Linked DNA regions of Homo sapiens: regions 2 and 3 are each linked to region 1. Evidence: promoter capture Hi-C in 16 types of primary human blood cells and fetal thymus (Javierre and others, 2016). All regions are on one chromosome and are shown on one strand. Each heading gives the region's core, a stretch centred on a gene start or on the middle of the fragment in contact. The rest is flanking DNA. Distances are from core to core; before and after follow the strand shown. Region 1 holds the start of NIPA2 (NIPA magnesium transporter 2). Region 2 has its middle 5.9 kb from the start of UBE3A. Region 3 overlaps SNRPN (small nuclear ribonucleoprotein polypeptide N).

Region 1 (5,023 bases), core at 970-3,469:
ATATGAGTAAACCATATTTACCTATTAAAAACATTCTGAAAATATGTGAAATTCTTTTTATTATCTCTCCCTAACAATAGCTACCACTTACTGAACACCTCCCCAGGCACTATTCCATGCATCATTTCTACTCATTTCTCTTCTACGCAATAAGATGAAGGTATCACTTTACAGCTAAGGAAACCTCCCAGGGGTAAAAAAGAGTCACATGCAGAGGACCACACAGAAAGGGACTTTACTTCTACACCCGGCTGCCCACATTACATTAACACTTTAGAGCTCTTAGGTCGGGCGCGGTGGCTCACGCCTGTAATCCCAGCACTTTGGGGGGTCGAGGCGGGCGGATCACCTGAGGTCAGGAGTTAAGAGACCAGCCTGGCCAACAAGGTGAAACCCCCGTCTCTACTAAAAATACAAAAATTAGCTGGGCGTGGTCGCCGGCGCCTGTAACCCCAGCTACTCCGGAGGCTGAGGCAGGAGAACCGCTTGAACCCAGGAGGCGGAGGTTGCAGTGAGCAGAGATCGTGCCACTGCACTCCAGCCCGAGTGACAGAGCAAGATTCCATCTCAAAAAAAAAAAAACAAAAAAAAAAACTATATATAGAGCTCTTAGTTTTCTACGAAATCTTTACTACCTGGTTTCCACTGCTATCTAAGTTAGCTTAGGCCCGGCTCGGTGGCTCACACCTGTAATCCCCGCACTTTGGAGGCCAAGGTGGTTGGATCGCTTAAGTCCAGAATTAGGAGACCAGCCGGTGTAACATGGTGAAACCCCGGTTCTAAAAAAAATACAAAAATTAGCCAGGCATGGTGCCGCACGTCTGTGGTCCCAGCTGCTGGGGAGGCTGAGGTGGGAGGAGCACTTGAGCCCGGGAGGCGGAAGTTGCAGTGAGCCCAGATTGCACCGTCTAGCCTGGGGACAGAGCAAGACCTTGGCTCAGAAAAATTAAATACATGTTAGATTTAATTTTTTCCAACCTCTCACTTGGCTAATAATTTTTCAAAGCAGTACTGTACTTATAAATATTACAGAACCTAAATCTCCAACCCTAACTATGCAACAATATTAGTTATAAATTACAATTTTAACTTACATGTAAGTTTAATATGGTCTCTCTTATGAAAAAAAGGCTGGGAGAGGTTAGAGATGACTTATTCACTCTCATTTCCTCGTAAATACCACCCTTTATTCTCATTTAAAGTCTTAAACCCTGGCCGAGTAGCTCCAGCCTAGAAAGAAGAAAACACAGAAGTAGGCAAAAGACTTAAAGTTACTAAGTACGTTTTATAATTTGGTTACTAGCCTTCATACTCATTTTGCCAACCAATCAACATAAAACCTACTCAATCGAGCACAACTACTGCTTCGACAGGCAGCTTACTGGAATGGAAACTCTCGACTCTGATATTTCCTCTTACTAAAAAAAGTATTAACCGGGCACATGGCTATACACAGGATTTCTAGAAACAGAACTTAACATGCAGTCCTGTATTAAATGAACTAACAACCTAGAAAAGAAATTAAGGAGGCACAAACACCAAACTAAACACACAGTTTTGAGCAATTGTATAGAGAGGGAAATAGGATTCCGTGATTTTATAAAAGGAAATTAAAACAGTCAGGCTCAAAACGTCACAGCAGACTTCTAAGGCTTGTTTAACTGTCAGTTATGATCCCCGCAGCAGCTGAAGCCACCTTCTAAAACTCACCAAGACAAATGAAATTATTTTAATGAACTTAATGAACATGCGTCCCCGACATGGCCAACGAGCCAGGCTTCCGTGGGACTGAACGGCAATCCGATTCACGGTGGGTTTCCTCACTGAGGATTACAGGAAAACCGCTTCAGAACACCCGGAAAGGAAAGTTGCCCGAAGAACCCTTCTCCGACACAAGGCGGGCTGGCTCGCCACCAAGTCAGCCCCTTCGCGCTTGCCTGAAAGGAAGGAGTGGCGACCTCACCCTAGTCGGCCGGCCGGCCGCGCGGCTTCCCCTCGCCGGCGCAGCCTTGGGCACCGCGGCTCACACCCCCACACAGGCCGCCCAGTCCTGCGCTCGCACGGCCACCGCCTTCGTCGCCGTCCAGTGGGAGATGCGAGCATTCGGGGCTGAAGCCGTTCGCACCGCCTCCTCCATGGAGAAGCGCCGAGGAAAACCTGCCAAGGACAACCTCCGGCACCGCCGTCACCACCGCTGCCGGGACCTAGGGCCGGCGCCGGAAAACCTAGGCGCGGCTAAATGACGCAAGAGGCCTCGCGCGCACGCGCAGTGCCGCACCACGTACACCCCGCCCCCGGGGCTCTCTCCCGCCGGGTTCCGGTTCCTTTACAAGGCCCCAGTCGGCTGAGCGCGGAGGGCGGGGCGCGTAGAGTGTGGGGACGGGGGCGGGGCGCAGGATCCAGGCGGGACCTGGCGAGGGACGAAGCTGGAAGCGTAGTTAAGCAGTACAGTATGCTGCCAGGTGGCGTTGGCCGATCAGTTCAAAATCAAACTCCGGCGTGGCCCTTATTTAAAACGAGGATTCCGGGCCCGGCGCTGTGGCTCACGCCTGTAATCCCAGCACTTTGGGAGACCAAGGCGGGCGGATCCCGAGGTCAGCAGATCGAGACCATCCTGGCTAACACGGTGAAACCCCGCCCCTACTAAAAATACAAAAAATTAGCCGGGCGTGGTGGCGGGTGCTTGTAGTCCCAGCTACTCGGGACACTGAGGCAGGAGAAGGGCGCGAACCCGGGAGGCGGAGCTTGCAGTGATCGGAGATCCCGCCACTGCACTCCAGCCTGGGCGACAGAGCGAGACTCCGTCTCAAAAAAAAATAGAATAAATGAGGGTTCCGGCCGGGCGCGGTGGCTCACACCTGTAATCACAGCACTTTGGGAGGCCGAGGCGGGCAGATCACGAGGTCAGGAGTTCGAGACCAACGTGACCAACATGGGGAAACCGCATCTCTACTAAAAATACAAAAATTAGCTGGACGTGTTGGTGCGCGCCAGTAATCTCAGCTACTCCAGAGGCTGAGGCAGGGGAATCGCTTGAACTCGGGAGGCGGAGGTTGCAGTGAGCCGAGATCAGCCACTGCACTCCACCTGGGCGACAGAGCGAGACTCCTTCTCAAAAATAAATAAATAAATAAAATAAAATGAGGGTTCCCAGGGGCAGTCACAGTGTGAAGCTGCATTTAATTGGTGTCCCCGGGCGATGCCAAAGGGGAACAGAGCTCCCAAGAGGGCAAGAAGCGGGGGAAAGGGTGGGTCCAAAGCTGGGGGCGGGACGGGGCGGGGCCGAAATAGCTGTGGTAGTTCGACGACCGCTGGGCCCTTCCTTACTGACCCGGTCGCGGAATAGATGTGAGGTTGACGTTTGGTGAAAGCCCGCCTCGAGACACTGAGAGCAGATTGATTGAATGATTGATTTTGAGACAGAGTCTCGCTCTGTCGCCAGACTGGAGTGCAGTGGCACGATCTCGGCTCACTGCAAACTCCGCCTCCCCGGTTCAAGCGATTCTCCTGCCTCAGCCTCCCGAATAGCTGGGACTGTAGGCGCGCGCCGCCACGCCCGGCTAATTTTTTTTTTTTTTTAAGACGGAGTCTTTCTTGTCACCCAGGCTGGAGCGCAGTGACACGATCTCGGCTCACTGCAACCTCTGCCTCCTGGGTTCAATGAAGCCATTCTCCTGCCTCAGCCTCCCCAGTAGCTGGGATTACAGGTGCACACCACCACGCCCAGCTAATTTTTGTATTTTTAGTAGAGATGGGGTTTCACCATGTTGGCCAGGCTGGTTTCGAACTCCTGACCTCGTGATCCGCCCGCCTCGGCCTCCCAAAGTGCTGGGATTACAGGTGTGAGCCACCACACCCAGCCAATTTTTGCATTTTTATTAGAGACAGGGTTTCACCATGTTGGCCAGGATGGTCTCGATCTCTTGACCTCGTGATTCACCCGCCTCAGCCTCCCAAAGCGCAGATTTATTTTTCATGAGATGTATAGGAAACTAACTGTTAGGCTATCCTGCCTTGGCTCCTCCTGGAAAGGAGAAATTCCTTGGGATCCACCAACGTGGTTTCTGCAAAAGTAGTCAAAGACAGAGCTCATTTGTAAGAAGCAAAGAGTAGCCAGCTAGAGTTAGATCTCCTAGTAAATCAATGATTCCTTGGTTGCAGGTGTAGAGTCCCTTAGGAATGTTGTTCCAGGTTGTGACTAGACACAAAAACACTATTATATGAAATTCAAATCATGTGGGGGGAGGATCTTTATAAAATGAATTATGCACTTTTTGAAACAAAACACCAAATATCATTTGTCCTTTTCAGGCTCTAATCCTATTGGACTGTTGTGTTCTAGACTGTATACACAGCCCCTGACCACTCTGGTTTTGGTTTAGGTCACTATGCAGCTTCTAATTTTAAAGCTTTTAATCTGCCGTGAGCCTAGCAATCATCTTAAAACTGGCTCAGAGGACCTATTACTTGCATCTCAGAACTGGCTCAGAGGATCTATTACTTTCTTTGGTCTCAGCCATGTTTTGGCTAGTTGACACTCTCAGATAAGGAATTCCATTGAATATTGAAAGACGGTTGACAAGTTGGTCTCAGGTGATGTGGTAGATTGATGAAAAATGGCTCCAATTTCCCACACATTTTGCAGTGACTTTGCAGCTCCCCTCTATTTCCTGAATCTGTACTGGCCTTGGGCTTTGGCCAAGAACATGTGGCAGTTCCAGACTAAATTATGATGCCTGGACTAGCCTGCTGGAGGAGGGGACCACATGGGGCAAGGCAAGCAGCAAATCCACCTAGGTAAATGCTGGCTGACTACCATTGAGACCAGCCACTGACCAAAACTGCCCCATTAACCCATAAACACATGAGGAAGGATAAATTACTATTGTCTGAGCCACTTATTTTGGGGTAGATTGGTATGTAGCAATAACTAACTGATACAGATGCCAACAAATACCTCTAGGACAGAGGTCCCCAAGAGTGCGAACCTTATTGTGAATTGTGCATGCGAGGGATCTAGGTT
Region 2 (5,023 bases), core at 637-3,136, 2.6 Mb before region 1:
CACAGTATTATCCCCTTTACAAATGAAGAAATCAAGGTTGAAATAAATTAAGTAGCTGACTCAGTATCACATAATCAGGACAGAGTGCTGGAAAGGACTGATGGCAGATGAAGATGGCTGAGACTCCCAGATGCCCAGTCTTGAATGGAGAGTATAAAAAATGAGTTTTCTGCTGGGGTAATAATTTGAGTATATTATAAGATTGCTACGAAGCAATGAAAAAAGGGATTATTGAATGAGGAAACATTTCAATGAAATATATTTTTGAAATTTTTGTTTTCTAGGAAAGCAACATGCTACAATAAGAGCGCACACACATACACCTGTGGGTTTAAATCCTAGCACTACTAGTTTTTAGCTGTAAGACATGGGCAAGTTGCTTACTTACTCTAAGCTCAATTTTCTAATCCATAAAGTATATAATATCCAAGAATGTTGTATGAATTAATGAGATTTATTTAAACAACTGGCACCTAATGAGTGTACAAATTTAATTTGCAGAAATGTACTGTCCTTTCAGGAACTTTGTGGTAAGTACTGAAATATGGATGCAATCAGTACTATGCTTAGCAGTAACTTAAAAAAAGAAGCAATATAAAATTTGTATGTCATAAATGATAACTATATTACTATCTTTAAAAATCTTGGTCTTTCCATATGTAGTATGCTAATTTAATGTTACAAAATAAAAGTAAAATCAATAATTTTAAAAAGTCAGACTTTAAGTATAAAATTTTGTTTGAAGCAATGCCAAAGAATCCACATAGTAACATTTATCATTTTGATAACAGAATTTTGTGTTCTGTATGTGGGCCTCAAGCAGTACTAAAACAAAATAGTGTATCAATTATAAATGATACTCATGATTCTTCCCTAGTCAGATGTTTTTTTCAGTTGAGAGATTCTGAAGAAAAACAATAAGTGTAGAATGTCTGTACCATCTTTAATACTAAGATTTAATTGAATCAATGCATTTCCTTAGATTTAAAAATCATTTTGTTAGAGTCTGTGTTAGAATCAGTATGATACGTATTTAAAATGGAATTAGAGATATGGACTGTAGTAGGAATGACTTCAAATAACTCAAATGATGCGCATGTCAGAAAGAAACAATTTCTAAGGGCTGCTTCATTGATTCAAGTGGAACTGTTTTATTCAGAACAGCTCAGATTAGCAGCAGCAGCAGCTGGTGTTCAATGAAATGCTTCCCTTTTCCACCTACTCTCCAGCTGGGTTAAGACAGGCACAAAGAGATTGGGATGACCAAGGTCAAAGCATGATTTGATAGACTTCCAGGTTTTTGCTCCAGTAACTTCTTGTGTAGTCTTGGCTATAGAGGCAATTCGTGAAATTGGTGGTTGAAAAAGTCATAGCTTTAGAAGGACTTCATAGATCATCTTGTTCAATATCTTAATTTTATACTTCATATACCACGGTTCTAATTAAAATACTTTATTGTTGCATATTTATTGGAATTGACAAGAAGTTAAGATTTCTTACATTTATTTCATTTGCCTGATTTTTCTGTTCCCACTGAATTGTATAAGCAGGCACTACTGCACTTTGTATCTCTACTTGACATAGCTGAAAAATGAAACATTCAAAGATACACTACTTTATTACATGTTAGCTCAGTAAAGGGGCCCTCTATTAGACATGCTGGTCTCAGTTCTTAACTTTTACACTCACAAAGCCCGATTCACTCATTCAAACCTTTTTTGAGGAGTTACCAGGTTTTAGCCATTGAGATAGATACTGGGAACACAAGAAGTCAAGGGTGCTCTCCTCTCTCAAGAAGCTTAAGAGAAGACAGAAGTGCTAAGCACATACATCGAGTATGCGGAGGGCACACAGAGGTATAAGCAATGACCCTCCTTGAGTAGATCTGAAAGGCTTCTCAGAGGAGGAGCTTGAACTTGTCTAAAAGGTAGAATAAACTGCATGCAAAAGAGCTCCAAATGACTCTCAAGCTTAAGTATTGCCTAAGCAATACATTCATGTGGGAAGTGGGAGATGGGGCTGGAATGGAGGCAGAGGCCACATCCAATGGGCCGTTTTTGGAGTTTAGACATTATTCAGAAGGCCATGGTGAGCCACTGATAGAGTTAAGAAAGGCAGCAAGGTGATAACACATGTTTCTTAAGAAAACATACTGTGATGAGGACATTTGGCAGGAAAGTAGTATAATATGAACCAGCATTCTCTGAATGTTGGGGTTAAAATAGTGAATGAGGTAATATGATCTTACCCTTCTGGAACTTACAGTCTAGTTCAGAAACACAACGGGTCTAAACACTAAGGGTCTAAATTAAGGTAGTAGCAGTGGAAATATACAGAAGGAAATGGATGTTATGATAATGATGATGATGATATTGCTTATTACCATTTATTGAACACCTCCCATGTGTCAGGCACTAAACACCTCATATGCACTATCTTTGTCCATTCTCCACACAGTAGCTAGAGTTATTCTATGGATCTTGTCATAACTCTCTCAAACCCTTCCAGAGGCTTCCCACCTCATTCAGCACAAATACCTAAGTTCTTAGGAAAAGCTAAAAAGTCCTCCAGGCTGTGACCCACTGTGACTTCTCTGAGCTCATCTTCAACTCCTCCTTTCTCTCTCTAGCCACAACGCCTTGCTACTGTTCCTAGATGACTCTAGGCACCTTTCTGCTTCAGGGCCCCCTCTGTCTAGAAGGTTGTTTCCTTTGTATTTCCACAGTTCATTCCTCACTTCTGTCAAGCCTCTGATTAAACGAATTCTTTTCAATAAGATCTTCCCTGGCCACTCGGCATGACGGAACTCCTGTAGCACTCCCTATTCCCTTTGCCTTGCTTTGTATTTCTCCTTAACATATCATATTCTGACATAACACATATGTGTTGGTTTTCTTCCTCCATGGATCACAAACTCCATGAAGGTAGACTGTTTTTGTTCATTGCTGTATTCTCAGCACTGATAACAGTGCTCGCACATATCCATTCAATAAATATGTACTGAATAGATGAATGAAGGATTACAATGGTCCTATGAGGATGGTACTATTATTTTTTCCCACTTTCCTAAAGAGGAAACAGACACCAATTGAGGTACTCAAGGTTGTATTTCTGGTAACTGGCAGAACTGGGATTTGCGTGGGGCGGGGGGAAGCCTGCCTTTGTTGAGTTGTACTATGTGCCCAGCATTATTCTAAGAACTTTATGTACATTAACACTTAATCCCTACACCTCCATTTTATAGATGAGGAAACTAAATCAGAAAGGGGTTTACAATCTTGCCTGGTATCTGTGCACTTGCCAGTAAGTTGGGGGCCTGTGCTCTCAGCTACTTTGCTACACTAATTCTAAAGCCAATTCTTTAGAGAGATACAACTTTGCCTCTTAATTGCCAGGAGAGTGAGGGAAAGGAAGAAATCCAGGATTGCTACCATTATTATGACTGTGGACCGCCATAGATGGTAGAGTCACCAATCAAGTCAAAGAATGTAAGATGAGTTGGTTTCATTCTCCTCTAACTCTAGACTTCCACATCCAACTGCCTCCTGATATCTTTGCTTGGATATTAAGACACAAGGTCAGCTGCAGTTAAAGGGATTTAGAATAACCATGGCAGATCATAGAAGTTAGTAGCTGTCTTACATCAGAGTTGACCTGGTACACAGGACCTGCCCAATGAAGTCCTCAGGGCCCCAACTTGTTGCTCTGCAATCCCTAGAATGTTTCCCAGTGTCTTAGTCTTGTTTATGCTGCTGTAACAAAATACCTGAAACTGGGAAATTTGTGAAGAACAGAAATATACTTTTTCACAGTTCTAAAGGCTGGGAAGTACAAGCTCAAGACCCCCAGCAGGTTTAGTGTCTGGTGAGGGCTGCAGTTTCCAAGGTGGGACCTTACTGCTATATCCTCTGGAGGGGGTGAATGCTGTGTCCTCGTGTGGCTAAAGGGATGGAAGGGCAAAAGAAGGCCTAAGCTAGTTCCCTCCAGTCCTTTTACAAGGTATTAATCCATCCATGAGGCAGGGCCCTCATGATTTCATCAGCTGTTAGTATCATCACAATGGGGATTAAGTTTCAACATGAATTTTGAAGGGGACACCATCATTGAAACCACAGCATCTTTCAACATGGTTTACTACCCCAACTATTTAATACATACATTCATCAGAAAAGGACAAAAGAAAGGGCAAGTGACACCCAATTTCTTTTAGAAAATGATCTGGAAGTTGCATACATAATTTCTGCTCACATCCTACTGGCCAGAACTTAAGAGATATGGCCACACTTAAGGGTGTATTATAGGCAACCATGTGTCTGGCTAGATGTTCTATTATCATGGATAAAGAGCAGAATGCATAAGAGTCAGCTAGGAAGCAGTTTGTACAACAGATATCCAACAGGTATCTCAAATTTAACATTACCAAAACTAAATTCCTGCTTGTTCTCCCAAAACCTGCTCCTTTGCACTGTTATCACATCTCAGTCCATGGTGGAAGACAGAACAAACTCAGGGGTTTGATGTTAATCATGTTGAGCTTGAGGTGCCTGTAGAACACCCAGTACAGGTTTCCAATAAGGGGTTGAAGATACTGTGTCTGATGCTTCTGACTGAGATCTGTGTTCAAGATTCAGACTTGATTCCTGACTGAAATAAGTGATAGAAGAGTATACGTAAATGGTACTGTCAAAGATTATAACATGGTAGGCAGAGAACCAAGAATGGGGAGGGAGGATTCTGCACAGGAGACCTGAGAAAGAGTGGCCTAAGACAAGGCAGAAGAGCAGAGAATGTAAGGTGACAGAACCAAGGGAGCAGTTTCCAGGAGGCAGTGGTCAGCAGTGTGGAAGGCTGCAGAGAGATCAGATGTTATGAAAACTGAGAAGCAACCTTTCAATTTGGCCATTATGCCACAGTGAAATTGATACAAGCAATGTATACAGTAAAATGGAGGGAGCTGCTAAATTTCTGTAGTTGAAGAGGAATTTGGAAGGTAATAGCAATCTAAGTATAGACAGCTTTTCTA
Region 3 (5,023 bases), core at 1,707-4,206, 2.1 Mb before region 1:
ACCATCTGACACCACAATATTTGTAAAGGATGTGGGGAAACTGCTGGTGGAAACATAAAGTGTTATATATAGACTTTGCCAACTTCCTAAAAATGTTAATCATGAAAGTAACATATGACACTAACTCTACTGCTAGATGAAGTAATATTACAAGACCCAAACTCAGCCTCCAAAGTAGCTGGGATTACAGGCATGCACCACCACACCCAGCTAATTTTTGTATTTATAGTAGAGACAGGGTTTCACCATGTTGGCCAGGCTGATGTCGAGCTCCTGCCCTCAGGTGATCTACCCACCTCGGCCTCCCAAAGTGCTGGGATTACAGGCATGAGCCACCATGCCCAGACAGTTCATGTTCTTTCTATTATACCTGCAGCCTTCCCAGCTACCACTACTCTCATACTTCCAAAAAGACAAAATTTCAAGAACCTGGCATATACGAGGGCTAAGTAAAACCTTGTGAAACTAATTCTTTGTATTAAACGTATTATACGTGTTCCTAGTAGCATTATTCATAATAGCCAAAGAGTGGAAACAACTCAAATGTCCATCAACTTACGAATGAAGAAAATATGATATATCCAAACGAATGTCTTTCAGCCATAAAAAGGAATTTAGTACTGATCAGTGCTACATTATGGTGGGCACACAAATACAGCTAATAATGTAGTACCTTAATATAATACAATTAAAGAAACTATCAACTAAACCATGATTAATCTAATAGTGTACAACTGCAAACACTGTCTTACCAAAAAACAAAAAGAACCCATTCGGCAGTTGCTCAATATGAAAGGTCTGAGGTCAACTGAGGAAATAGCCATCAAACCAAAATATTCTATTATTTCAACTTTCTGAATTTACCTTTTTTTAAATGTAGAGACGGGGTCTCAATACCCAAGCTTGAACTCCCAGGCTCCAGTGATCCTTCTGCCTTGGCCTCCAAAAGTGCTGGGACTATAGACATGAGCCACCGCACCTGGCTTAAATCTACTTATTTTTAATCTACATATAAAATGTCATCTATAAGATTTTGAAAACACTACTTTATTGAATGTTCTAGATACACACACACATGCATTTATCTAACTGCATCCCCAACACAGAAACCAACATTTTATGAAACTGAGGACATCATGAAAAAATCATCATATAGAAAGGGTGTTAAATGTTTGCCCTCAGATCACTTACACTGAAAGTAATAATCCGGAAATATATTGAAAAGCAAAAAGCAATGGAATCCCAATTTTATTACGGCCTAAATTTTCCATAAAATTTAACTAAGATCTCAAGAATAAAAATAAACAAAGTTGGCCAGGTATAGCGGCTCATGGCTGCAATGCCAGCACTTTGGGAGGCCTAGGCAGGGGCACTGCTTGAGTCCAGGAGTTCGAGACCAGTCTGGGCAACATAAGGAGACCCCTCTCTACAAAAAAATAAAAAGTTAGCTGGGCACAGTACCTCAAGCCTGTACTAACAGGCACTTGGGAGGCTGAGGCAGGAGTCTAGATTGATCCAGGAGTTTGAGGTTACAGGGAGCTATAACTGCATCACTGCACTCCAACCTGGGCAACATAGCCAGACCCTGTCTCCTAAAAACAAAAAAATAAGGTTAATGATAGGCTGCTAATCTGTACCCCATGAATATAAGAAACCTCATTGCCTCCAAAACAAATCTGAGGAGAATTAACAAAAAGAGAATTTGGGCCAGCCACAGTGGCCAGAGAGAGACTGAGGAGGGAGAGGATATAGCTTGAGTCTAGCAGTTCGAGTTCAGCCTGGACAACATAGGGAGACCCTGGTCTATTTAAAAAAAAAAAAAAAAAAAAAAAAAAAAAAAAAACTTTGAGCCAGCTAGCATCCAGAAATGGAGAGAGGCTACCTTAAGTAGTAACAATTCTCACTCAAGCTTTCTGGCCCTGGGCCACAAAAAAAAAAAAAAAGGAGACAGGACCAGTGACAGGTCTAAATAAGATTTTTAAAACTTCATTGTCCAAGTAATTGAGGGCAGTACTCACAACCTGCTTAAATGATTCTTCCTAAAAAATAGCTAAACAGAGGGCGCTGATAAACAAAGGAGGTTATCTTGGCATCCTTGACACCTTATAAACAAAATTTTTTGTAAAACAAAGATGTTTATTAGGAAAAGGAACAGGGTAAGGGAAACATAAAGATACAGAGTAACTATAAATGTGGAAAACATTTCGGCAATGACACACTGGTCAGATAGAATAGTGAAATCAAGATAAGGCAAGGTCTGTGAATAAATCCAAATCAGTTAGTACCCTGCCTTAGACAACAACATAAGGGTCTCTCAACCAAGCTTCCTTCCTCTGCATCACAGGAAGGGCTGCCACTCCCTGCCTCCAAAAAGCCCTAGCACAGAGCCAATTCACTGAGTAGGACACAGACCTTGAAACTTCAAGAGGCCTTTCCAAAGGGATCTGCCATATTAGGATCCCGGGCCTGAATGCAAGACTACAAAATGGCGGATCAGACTAAATACTCAGCTTGCAAATAGCCAAATGACCAGAAGTTAAACCAAGAAATATATGTATGTGAACTGCTATCTTCATGCAAGCAGAAAAAAAAGGGTAAATTATAAATATCATATAAAATCCCAGACTCCTGCTATTTTTAAAACTACCCAAAAATAGATTATTCCAGAACAAGGCTTTTCGGGCTTCGTAGATTTAACTTTTCTGTTAATTACAACTCAGTGCAACCAGACATACCAGTTATGATAGAGGGAAAATGTAAATACAGAAAAGGCAAGCACTGAAAATCCTGCAAAGGAAGACAAAATCCTTAGAATAAAATGATTTTTTAAAAAAGTACTGGAATATAAAAATGCAGTTATTCATTAACCTTTCTCACCAAATTTTTGTAGTAGCTCCAACTTCAAAAATGATCATTAATTTAAAAATCCAAAAAAAGACAGTAACTGATCCAAAGCACAACCCCACCCCAATAAGATTGTCTCCACTTTTCTCTTTTATTCTCTTTGAGCACAAAACTTGCAGCTTTCAACTCCCAGAAGATGAAGAGGTCCAGTGTTTGAAACACCTTTCAACCTTAGTCGGGAAGAGCCATCACGATGTCCTCTCCCCCAACCCATTTAAGGAAAGTATGCAGTGCATCAGAATGGACTATCCAGAGATTAAGAAGGATAACTGAATCTTAAATGGTGACATTTATTAAATGTGTCGAATGGAAATCAAAGACTACAGGGAGTTAAAAAAAAGGGGTTAACAAGTCCAGTTTGAAAATAGAGAATTAGCGCACAATACAACCAAGAGAGGAACTACAAAAATGAAAAGGTACGATTTTCCAGGGAGTCAGAAAACCAATTTAAAATCTCTATCATTAATGGAGGCTTGCTGAAACAGCACAGCAGGTCTTGGGGTGGCTGCACCTTTGATGGCCTCCAGGCCGCCACCACTCTAGTTTACTGCAGAGCTGAAAAGCAGTAGCCCAGTGCAGCTGCCATCCCACACAGGCGGAGGTGGTACAAATGCCTGGCCTCTAGCCACATTCCCCTCCAGTCCTCTACTGCTGCACCGTGGGTAAGGGGTGGCTGCCAAGCTTGCTAGGCGGAGCCTGCGCCAACCCATCTCCCTCCTCCCCCCTCTACTGCGCCACAACCGGAAAGGAACAGCTGCTGTATCAGCCAGGTGAAGGGGAGGGCTGCCATTCCTTCCAGGCAAAAGCTGCGTAAGCCCTCGCTCCCCTGCCCCACGTCTCGCCCCACTGCAAGCGGAGGCGACTGTCACCTCTGCTGCGTCTGCGCAACCTGCATCCTTTCCCAAGCAGCACTTTGGGGAGGGGGCAGCCGCCCACCTTGGCCGGCTTCCTCTCCTTACCACTGCACCCTAAAGAGGGTACGGCTGAAACTCCGAAACAGCAGAAGCTGAACACACACCACCTGCCCCCTCCCCACTGGCGGCTCTACAGGGAGGAAGCGGCCACCCCCCCGCTGAAGCGCTTGCGCAGATCTAAGCCGCTGCAGCGGCGGCCATCTTGAAGGAGCTGCACAATGGCAGTGACGCAACACAGACCCCCAGGTTATTTCGACATAGCCTTCCAAGACCTGGTTCCCAACAGAGAGAAACAATGAAAAAAAAGTAACCCCCAGGCATCACCTGGCCTATCAGTCAAAAGATCTGTAAATGCAAGTTCTGCACATCATTCCAGTCTTCTTATGCCATAGCCTCTAAAGCGAGGGTTCCTAAAGGGTACGCAAGGATTCCACGCATTTCTGCAGCCCCTGCGGCAGTGTAGGCATTGCGCAGTTTTAATAAAAAAGCACCACCACCACAGTAGGCAAACCAGATGACCATCGCAGGTCACAGGAAAATTAAAGGCTGCGGACTGTGCTACTGCCCCTTCTGATGCCCCCTCCTCTACACAGCAATCATTCAGCGTCCCTTAGTCACTCCGGACAGCGACAGGCCCCGCGGCCGCCATGCCCACCGCCTCCATGCCATGCCCACCGCCGCCATGCCTACCGCCGCCAAAGTCCACCACCGCCATGCCTACCCGCTGCCAATGCCCACCGCCGCCAATACCCACTGTCGCCGCCTTCCCCCTACCTCCCAGCCACTTCCTACGGACTCTCCCCGCGCCGCGACCACCAACACAACCCCCACCACTGTCACACCGACTCATCCCCCTGGTCCACTGCCATAGCCTCCTCGCCTCGGTCACTGCGACGAATTCCCCCCCCAGTCGCCCCACGTACCCTGCTCCACCACGCAGTGGTCACTATTATACACCTACCTGCGCTCAACACCCCCTAAATACCGATCACTTCACGTACCTTCGCCCCGCCACAATCACTCCAATATACCTACCTCCGCCTAAAATCCCTATGCACTGGTCCCCCCACGTACCCTCGCCACACGGAACTGCAATCACCCTGATGTACCCACCTCCACCCATGTCCCTTGCCCACTGCGGTTACCCCGCATGCTCCCAGTCACCACCGCCCTTCCCACCGCAGACACCCGCAATAGGACCTGTC

Evidence for each region. Contacts are between HindIII fragments. The CHiCAGO score rates a contact against its expected background, and 5 or more counts as called.
Region 2: a contact is called between a fragment that was not itself captured here and the fragment with the promoter of NIPA2 in region 1, in 4 of 17 cell types (total CD4 T cells, fetal thymus, total B cells and 1 more). The highest score is 10.0, in total CD4 T cells.
Region 3: a contact is called between a fragment that was not itself captured here and the fragment with the promoter of NIPA2 in region 1, in 2 of 17 cell types (fetal thymus and non-activated CD4 T cells). The highest score is 10.4, in fetal thymus.

What each region holds. Positions count from the first base shown.
Region 1 is chr15:22,835,862-22,840,884 of GRCh38, reverse strand. It overlaps NIPA2 (NIPA magnesium transporter 2), which reads right to left and starts at 2,219. Exons shown (of 8, transcript NM_030922.7): 1 at 1,964-2,219; 2 at 1,095-1,230. RefSeq lists an enhancer at 2,093-2,322. The HindIII fragment of the contact is 4,457 bases long and covers 1-4,407 here.
Region 2 is chr15:25,442,451-25,447,473 of GRCh38, reverse strand. No RefSeq gene overlaps it. Among named protein-coding and RNA genes, the nearest start is that of UBE3A, 5.9 kb to the right of the region's middle. The HindIII fragment of the contact is 172 bases long and covers 1,801-1,972 here.
Region 3 is chr15:24,955,307-24,960,329 of GRCh38, reverse strand. The region is part of intron 1 of SNRPN (small nuclear ribonucleoprotein polypeptide N); the gene reads right to left. All of the region lies in intron 1 of SNURF (SNRPN upstream open reading frame), which reads right to left. The region is part of intron 4 of SNHG14 (small nucleolar RNA host gene 14); the gene reads right to left. Among named protein-coding and RNA genes, the nearest start is that of SNURF, 2.8 kb to the right of the region's middle. RefSeq lists enhancers at 3,493-3,542, 3,231-3,796, 3,813-3,972, 3,797-4,362, 4,363-4,928. The HindIII fragment of the contact is 1,262 bases long and covers 2,326-3,587 here.